Linked DNA regions of Homo sapiens: region 1 is linked to region 2. The links are contacts of gene promoters, found by promoter capture Hi-C in human tissues and cell types (Jung and others, 2019). All regions are on one chromosome and are shown on one strand. Each heading gives the region's core, a stretch centred on a gene start or on the middle of the fragment in contact. The rest is flanking DNA. Distances are from core to core; before and after follow the strand shown. Region 1 overlaps NIPSNAP1 (nipsnap homolog 1). Region 2 holds the start of ASCC2 (activating signal cointegrator 1 complex subunit 2).

Region 1 (4,067 bases), core at 327-2,826, 270 kb before region 2:
CAAAGTGGAAGGATCGCTTGAGCCCGGGAGTTTGAGACCACCCTGGGTAACATAGGGAGATCCCGTCTCTACAAAAAATTTAAAATAAATTAGTTGGGCATTGTGGCATGCACCTGTGGTCCCAGCTACTCAGGAGGCTGAGGTAGGAGGATTGCTTAAGCTCAGGAGGTTAAGGCTGTGTGAGCTGTGATCACACCACTGCACTCCCCACTGGGTAACAAGACCTGGTTTCAAAAATAAATAAATAAATGAAAATTTAAAAATGAATAAAACTGAAAGGCCAGGCACGGTGGCTCATGTCTACAATCCTAGCACTTTGGGAGGCCGAGGAGGTAGGATCATTTGAGTTCAGGAATTCAAGACCAGCCTGGGCAACATGGAGAAACCCCGTCTCTACCAAAAAACACAAAAATTAGCCGAGCATGGTGGAGCGCACCTATAGTCCCAGCTACTCAGGAAGCTGAGGTGGGAGTACTGCTTGAGCCTGGGAAATTGAGGCTCGAGTGAGCCAAGATTATGCCACTGCACTCCAGCCTGTGTGACAGAGCAAGACCCTGTCTCAAAAAAAAAAAAAAAAAAAAAAAAGGCCGGGAGTGGTGGCTCACTCCTGTAATCCCAGCACTTTGGGAGGCCGAGGCAGGTGGATCACCTGAGGTCAGAAGTTCGAGACCAGCCTGACCAACATGTGAAACCCCATCTCTACTAAAGATACAAAATTAGCCAGGCCTGGTGGCACAGGCCAGTAATCCCAGCTACTCGGGAAGCTGAGGCAGGAGAATATCTTCAACTCAGGAGGTGGAGGTTGCAGTCAGCCAAGACTGTGCCACTATCTGCCAGCCTGGGTGACAGAGCGAGACCCTGTCTCAAAAAAGAAAAAAGAAAAAAAAAAAAAAGGCCGGGTGCGGTGGCTCACACCTGTAATCCCAGCACTTTGGGAGGCTGAGGCAGGTGGATCACCTGAGATCAGGAGTTCAAGACCAGCCTGACCAACATGGTGAAATCCCGTCTCTACTAAAAATACAAAATTAGCTGGGCGTGGTGGCACATGCCTGTAATCCCAGCTACTCAGGAGGCTGAGACAAGAGAATTGCTTAAACTGGGGAGGCGGAGGTTGCAGTGAGCCGAGATTGCACTACTGCACTCCAGCCTGGGGCAACAAGAGTGAAACTCAGTCTCGGAAAAAAAAAGAATAAAAGACAGTGATCCAGGTAAAGCAGGCAAACAAGAAATAATGCTTAAGGCAGAAGAAAGAGAATGAGCAGTAGTCTGGAACTAAAGAGTGAAACTGTCAATCTGAGGAACTGAGTCCTGGGTGGGACAGCACAGCGAGGCATGGAGGATTTGGTGCCATGAGGCTGGGGGCAGGGCCGGGAAGGAGTCACAGGCTTCACGGGTCACCTTGAGGGCACAGGGGAGCCAGGACAGGTATTTGAGCAGGGGAGTGAGGTGATGAGGTTTTAGTAAGAGCCCCACCAGGTGCTGTTGTGGAGAGGGAGTGGAGAACAGCCAGGTGTGAAAGGTGCTGGAGGCCAGGGCTGGGCAGTGGCAATGGCACTAGGGAGGTGAGCGCCTTACCTGCCTGGTCCTGCTCCCCATACCACGTGTTCCAGTTGCCCACGAGTGAGCATGGGTAGTCCTCATCCAGGTGAAGCTTGGGCAGCACAGCCTCCCTGTGGGGGAGGTGCAGAGAGGGGCAGGGTTCACATAGCCACCAGGGCCTCTGAGATAAGGGTTCAAACTCAGTTCAAACAGACCCTGGGGCTGGGCCTCAGACTCTCCATCTCTAAAATGCAGAAGCTAGGCAAGAGGCCCTCAGGACTTCCGACACTGAAATTTACATCCTGGCTGGGCACAGTGGCTCACACCTGTAATCCCAACACTGGGAGGCTGAGGCAGGAGGATTGCTTGAGCCCAGTAGTTTGAGACCAGCCTGGGAAGCAAAGTGAGATCCCATCTCTCTTTTTTGTGTGTGAGACAGAGTTTTGCTCTTGTTGCCCAGGCTGGAGTGCAATGGCGCAATCTCGGCTCACTGGAACCTCCGCCTCCTGGAGACCATCTCTTAAAAAAAAAAAAAAGAAAGAAAGAAAATGGGGCCAAACGCAGTGGCACATGCCTGTAATCCCAGCACTCGGAGGCCGAGGCAGGTGGATCACCTGAGGTCAGGAGTTTGCGACCAGCCGGACTAACATGGTGAAACCCTGTCTCTACTAAATACAAAAAAATTAGCCATGCTTAGCGGCGCATGCCTGTAATCCGAGCTACTTGGGAGGCTGGAACAGGAGAATCGCTTGTACCTGGGAGGCAGAGGTTGCAGTGAGCCGAGATCGCGCCATTGCACTCCAGCCTGGGCAACGAGAGCAAAACTCCATCTCAAAAAAAAAGAAAGAGAGAAAGAAAGAAAGAAAGAAAAAGGCAGAAATAAAAGAAATCTACATCTCCTGGATTTCTACAGAAAAGAACAGGGTGGAGGATGTTCCGCAAATTTGCTGAAAGTGTGTTCCCCACCCAAGCAGGGGATGGGATGTATGGATGCAGGGTGCTCACGTGAGGCTGTTGTAGGCATCCAGGTATTCAGGCTTTACATTGTGAACTGCAACAGAGGACAGAGAACAAGAAGTGAGGTAGGGTGTGTACACAGGGAAGAACTTGGGGTGAGGGGAGCCCATCAAGGCCAGGGGTCCCAGGACAGCTGAGGACATTCCAGACCCTCCCATCTCCTTCCTGGAGCCTCACAGGCCCCCAGAGCCCCTGAAAGGGCAGAAATTGGTCAGCTCAGCAGCCACTCACACTGGATCTTATAGAGGTTGCTGGTTTCCTTCTTGGACAGCAGGGTGGAGTGGGCATCCTTCCGGGGATCCACTTTGTGAACAAAGAGGGAGCGGAACCAGCTGCCTTCATTGTCCTTGGAATAGAAACTGCAGGACAGAGGAGTTGAGGGGGACGCGCGGAGGTTGGGGGAGCCCCAGCAATTCCATCCACTTGGATGTCCTGCTCCCCTAGACCAGTGACCCACATTTCTGGGAACAGGGCCACGGAGTCCTGTGGCAGCTCCAGACTGTGAAATGCTATTGGAGCCAGCTCCTTTCTACAGATATTCCAGCTGCCCAGTTGGCTTCTTGAAGCTTTGCAGAGCCTCAGGACGCCAGGAGAGGCAGCCCCACCTCCCACTTCTCTCTCTAGCCTCCCTGCCTCCACTTCATCCCCCTTCCAAGAGGTCCTCTACTTGGGTCATATAACTCCAGCCTCTCGCCAAGAGGATCAACCCCAAATCCACCTTGCATCATGCCCAAAGCCCTTGACAACCCAACCTAACTTGTCAGCCTCCCCTCCTGCCCCCTCACCTGTACACCTCACTCTCCAGGTGTGCTCTTCCCTGAACACACCAGGATCTGCTACTCTGTGCTTTCTGTACAAGTTCTGTCCCCTCTAACGAGAAGACTGCTCTCACCGTCCTCCCCAGCACTCTCACAGTGCACTTGGCCCATGTCCCCACCCTGACCCCACACATGGAAAGCCAAATACAAATAAGCTTTGTCCTTGAGGAGCTCATAGTCCACTAGGAGAAATGGGCCTTGGGACACAATTATAGGAGGGGTCTCTGGAAGAGCCCAGGTGAACTAGCCTTAACTCTGCTTCTGGCAACCTGGGCAGACTCTCTACAGAGGAGGAGATGAGCTGGTCAGTCCCCAGGACTGGTTTGGCAGATAGAGGGAGTAAAAGGCACTGCAAAGCAAGATGCATTCACTCATCCAGCCAACACCTGCTCTGCCCATCTCCATAGGATACTGAGAATGAATGAATGAATGATCAATGAATATGATTATGTGCTTTGCCCATGAGCACTGTGGTTAAGGGCAGTGGAGGGTCTGCTGCCAGCTCCTACTGGACCAGAACTGCACTCCCATCCTAAACACATACCCAAGGTCCCAGCAGGAGGCAGGGGTGCTTATTTTGAGACTACCAATCTTCCCGCTCCACAGCCTTGGTGCAGCTTGCAGCCAGGCCTGAAAAGGAAGTCTCCCAATGGAGACAATTCCTAGCCAGGGAGCCTGGCAAGAGGGATCCCT
Region 2 (4,328 bases), core at 1-2,500:
AGCTATGTAGATAAGGCTCATGAAGCTGTGGCAGCATTTAAAAGAGAGACCTGGCTTGAGGAAGAAGTGATGTCAAGGAAGACCTGAGTTTTTGTCTAAAGCACGGGTACAAATTAAGTAGGCAGGGCTGGGCGCGATGGCTCACGCCTGTAATCCCAGCGCTTTGGGAGGCCAAGGCGGGCGGATCACGAGGCCAGGAGATCGAGACCATCCTGGCTAGCAAGGTGAAACCCCGTCTCTACCGAAAAAAAAAAAAAAAATTAGCAGGGCGTGGTGGTGCATGCCTGTAATCCTAGCTACTCAGGAGGCTGAGGCAGGAGAATCGCTTGAACCCGGGAGGCGGAGGTTGCAGTGGGACGAGATCACGCCACTGCACTCCAGCCTGGGCGACAGAGCAAGACCCCGTCTTGGGGGGAAAAAATAAATTAACTGGACAATCTGAACTTTGAGCTCCAAAAGGACAAACAATAATCATGACTATGTCTGTGCCCACCACTGTATTCCCCTGCCAGGCAGGACAGCAAAAGCCAAAAGCTAAGAAAGGGAGGGGGAGCTCCCTACAAGCACCCAATTGCAATATGGCCTGGGAGCATCCCCGGGGCTACTGCTCCCTCAGCCTCTTTGTCATCATTCCTCTAGTCTCTCAATTAAATACTACTCTCCTCAGAGACCTTCTGATGGCTCTGCCTATAGTATCCACTCTCCCAGTTACTGTCATAGCTTTAATGACCTTGTGCATTTGCTTGTCGTTGACCATCTCCTCCCACTAGACTGTAAGCTCCATGAGGGCAGAAGCCTTGTCTGTCTTGCTTTCTTTGTATCCCCAATGTCTAGATCTGTGTCTGGCACATAGGAAGCACTCCACAAATATTTGCTGAACGAATGAATGAACCCTGAGGAAACTGAAGCCCCGGGTGTGAGGACGTGGGGGGATCGTGGCTGGTCCAACGCCACTCTGGGGCCGAACTTCGAACCCGTGGCTCCTGACCCTGGCGGCCAAGTCTCGAGAGGCGGCTCACAACCCCTCAGGTAGCGTAAGCGTGGGCCCCGCAATGGAGGCCAGAGGATGGGAGAGCCAAGGCTGCCCAAGGCATAGCCGCGGCTCCTCCGGGGTCCCTTGCCCTGCATCTGGCAGGGACCAGCCACGCACTCACCTCGGCGGCTCCACCACCGGCTCTGTGCCGCCGCCGCCGCCGCCGCCGCCGACCACGGTGACAGCTCCCTGAGCGCCCGCACTTCCGGGGTCAAACTGCGATTCCGCAGGAGCAGACAGGAAGTCTCGGCCTGGCCCCGCCCCCAGAGCCGAGCAAACTACCGCCGGGAAGCCGGACCCGGGTTGCGCCTCTCTTCTTAAGACTCCGCCCCACACTCGGCGTCTGTAGCCACGCCCCCTTCCCCTCCTATCTCCCTTCCTGCTTAAGCAGAGAATAGGTCAGCTGAGGGCGGGCTGTGTGATTACACCTCTCGGGAAATCCAAGTATGGCACCTGAGAGGACGTCTCGGAATCCCAGGCTTCCACCTTCTGCCCGACCTCCTTAGTCACCGTTTTACATATTTAATCCAGAAGAGAAATTTTAACAAGTCAAAAGCACGAACATAATGTTAAGCAGATGTACAAGTACAGACTGCGATTTCATTTACGGGAAATTCTAGAACAGACAGAACTCATGAGTAGTGATGGTGTTAAAATTGGTGGTTTCCTCTGGGGCTGTGGGCTGGGAGGGGCCACAAGTGAGGCTGGGGTCACCCCCTGTCTTCATCTCGGTGGTAGCCATGTAGATGTGTTCACTTTGGAAAATTCATCAAATTGTACGCTTAAGATTTGTGCATTTTTCTGTATGTATGCAATACAGTTTTGTTCTGTTTTGTTTAAGGAAGTTACAAGTATAGCTATCCTAAGAGAAGGATGCAATTTTTTCTACAGAATGTCTCAGGTAATGTAGGTTTAGTGGTTCCTAAGCCTGACTATGGATCAGAATCATCACAGAAAACTTGTTAAGAACACACATTCCTGGCTTCATCTCAGTGCCTGGTACACAGTAAGAATTCAAAACCAACCACCATCATTATTGGGGTGTTATAGAAGCCCCCGAATGGAGAACACAACCCCACCCTGGGATTGTGAAATATTTCCCAGGACACTCCTGCCAACCCCTGCTATCTGCACTAGGGCTACAAGGAATGCTTAGTTCAGTGCCTGTCTTCAAGGGGCTTACAGGATAGGAAGTGCAAGAAAACCAATAGCAATGAGTCAGTGTGATGAATGCAGGGTGCTAAGGAAATAGGAGAGATGGGCTGTAAACCAGAAATGAGATGAGAGGGGCTGGATATTATATTAGTTTTGTATTGCTGCATAACATATTACCACAAACTTATAACAACACACTGCTTGCCACTTATAACAAACACATTTATTTATTTATTTATTTTGAGACAGAGTCTCACTCTGTCACCAGGCTGGAGTGCAGTGGTGTGATCTTGGCTCACTGTAACCTCTGCCTCCCGGAGGTTACAGTGGGTTCAAGCGATTCTCCTGCCTCAGCCTCCCAAGTAGGCAGGACTACAGGCATGAGCCACCAGGCCCAGCTAATTTTTGTATTTTTAGTAGAGACGGAGTTTCACCATGTTGGCCAGGATGGTCTCGATCTCTTGACGTCGTGATCCGCCTGCCTCAGCCTTCCAAAGTGCTGGGGTTACAGGCGTGAGCCACCACACCTGGCCAACAAACATATTTATTATCTCACATTTTCTGTGGGCCAGGAATCTGAGGATGGCATAGCTGGCTCCTCTGCATCAGGGTCACCCACAAGACTGCAATCAAGATATCGGCCAGGGCTGGAGTCTCATTTAAAGGCTCAACTCAAAAAGGATCTGCTTCCCATGTCTAGTGGCTAAATTCAGTTCCTTAATGGTTGTTGGACTAAGGGTCTCAGTTCCTAGCTGGATTTTGGCTAAAGGCTTGTCACGTAGGCTTCTCCAGTGTAGCAGCCTGCTTCATCAAAGCATGCAAGCCTAAAAGTTAATAGGGAAGCCAAGAGTGGTGGCACATGCTTATGGTTCCAGCAGGTTGGGAGGCTGAAGCAGGAGGATTGTTTGCGCCTAGGAGTTCAAATTGAGCCTGAGCAACATAGCAAGACCCAGTCTCTAAAAATTAAAAATAAATAAATAAATAAAAGAAGGCAATAGGGGCCGGGCACCGTGGCTCATGCCTATAATCCCAACACTTCGGGGGGCTAAGGTGGGAAGATTGCTTGAGCCCAGAAGTCTGAGGCCATCTTAGGCAACATAGCGAGACTTCGTCTCTACAAAAAAAAATTTAAAATTAGCCAGGCATGCTGGTGCATGCCTGTAGTCCCAGCTACTTAGGAGGTCGAGGCAGGAGAATTGCTTGAGCCCAGGAGTTCGAGGCTGCAGTTAGCTGTGATCACACCACTGCACTCCAGCCTGCACAACAGAGCAAGACCCTGTCTCAAACAAACAAAAGGAGGCAATAGGAGATTCTACTAAGAAGAGAGAAATTACAACCTCATGTAACCTAATCAAGAAAGTGACATCAGTTTTGCCATGTTCTATTTGTTAGTAGCAAGTCACAGGATTTGCCCACAGGGGATTACACAAGGGCATGAATACCAAAAGATGTGAATCAATGGAGGCCATTCTAGAGTCTGCCTGCCACAGATACTTGGAGGATGCATATCAACCCCAGGTCTGCAGCAGAGGAAGTAGAGGTGCAGAGAGATAAAGACAGTTGTGATAATAATGACCACATTTGTCAAACCCTTGCTTCATCCCAGGCACTGGAATAAGCATTTTACACATATTATCTCTTTGACTTTTTTTTTTTTTTAAATGAGATGGAGTCTCACTCTGTTACCCAGGCTGGAGTGCAGTGGCACGATCTTGGTTCACTGCAACCTCCGCCTCCCAGGTTCAAGCCATCCTCCTGCCTCAGCCTCCGTAGTAGCTGGGACTACAGGCATGCACTGGGCTAATTTTTGTATTTTTAGTAGAGATGGGGTTTTGCCATGTTGGGCAGGCTGGTCTCAAACTCCTGACCTCAGGTGATCTGCCCGTCTTGATCTCTCAAAGTGCTGGGATTACAGGTGTGAGCCACTGAGCCAGGTGCTCTTTGACTTTTTGTAACAATGATAAGAGGTAGACGCTATTATGACCCCATTTTAAAGAGAGGTTTAAAGACTAGACCAGAGTCACAGAGCTGGTAAGTGGGTGGAGTGGGGATTTGAATTCAGCCCTGTTTAGCCCCAAGCTCCAAGAGATCTCAAGGGCCACAAGCTGCGTCAGAACAGTGAATGTTTCCCTTTGTTGCT

The links. Contacts are between HindIII fragments. The study calls those that stand out against the background at their distance.
Region 1: a contact is called between a fragment that was not itself captured here and the fragment with the promoter of ASCC2 in region 2, in 1 of the 25 tissues and cell types used here (dorsolateral prefrontal cortex).

The regions. Positions count from the first base shown.
Region 1 is chr22:29,567,618-29,571,684 of GRCh38, forward strand. It overlaps NIPSNAP1 (nipsnap homolog 1), which reads right to left. Exons shown (of 10, transcript NM_003634.4): 2 at 2,788-2,915; 3 at 2,545-2,590; 4 at 1,576-1,670. Among named protein-coding and RNA genes, the nearest start is that of NIPSNAP1, 11 kb to the right of the region's middle. RefSeq lists an enhancer at 1,563-1,857 and a silencer at 3,323-3,617. The HindIII fragment of the contact is 3,498 bases long and covers 1-3,325 here.
Region 2 is chr22:29,837,024-29,841,351 of GRCh38, forward strand. ASCC2 (activating signal cointegrator 1 complex subunit 2) reads right to left here and starts at 1,251. Exons shown (of 20, transcript NM_032204.5): 1 at 1,155-1,251. RefSeq lists an enhancer at 1,524-1,583. The HindIII fragment of the contact is 14,310 bases long and covers 1-4,328 here.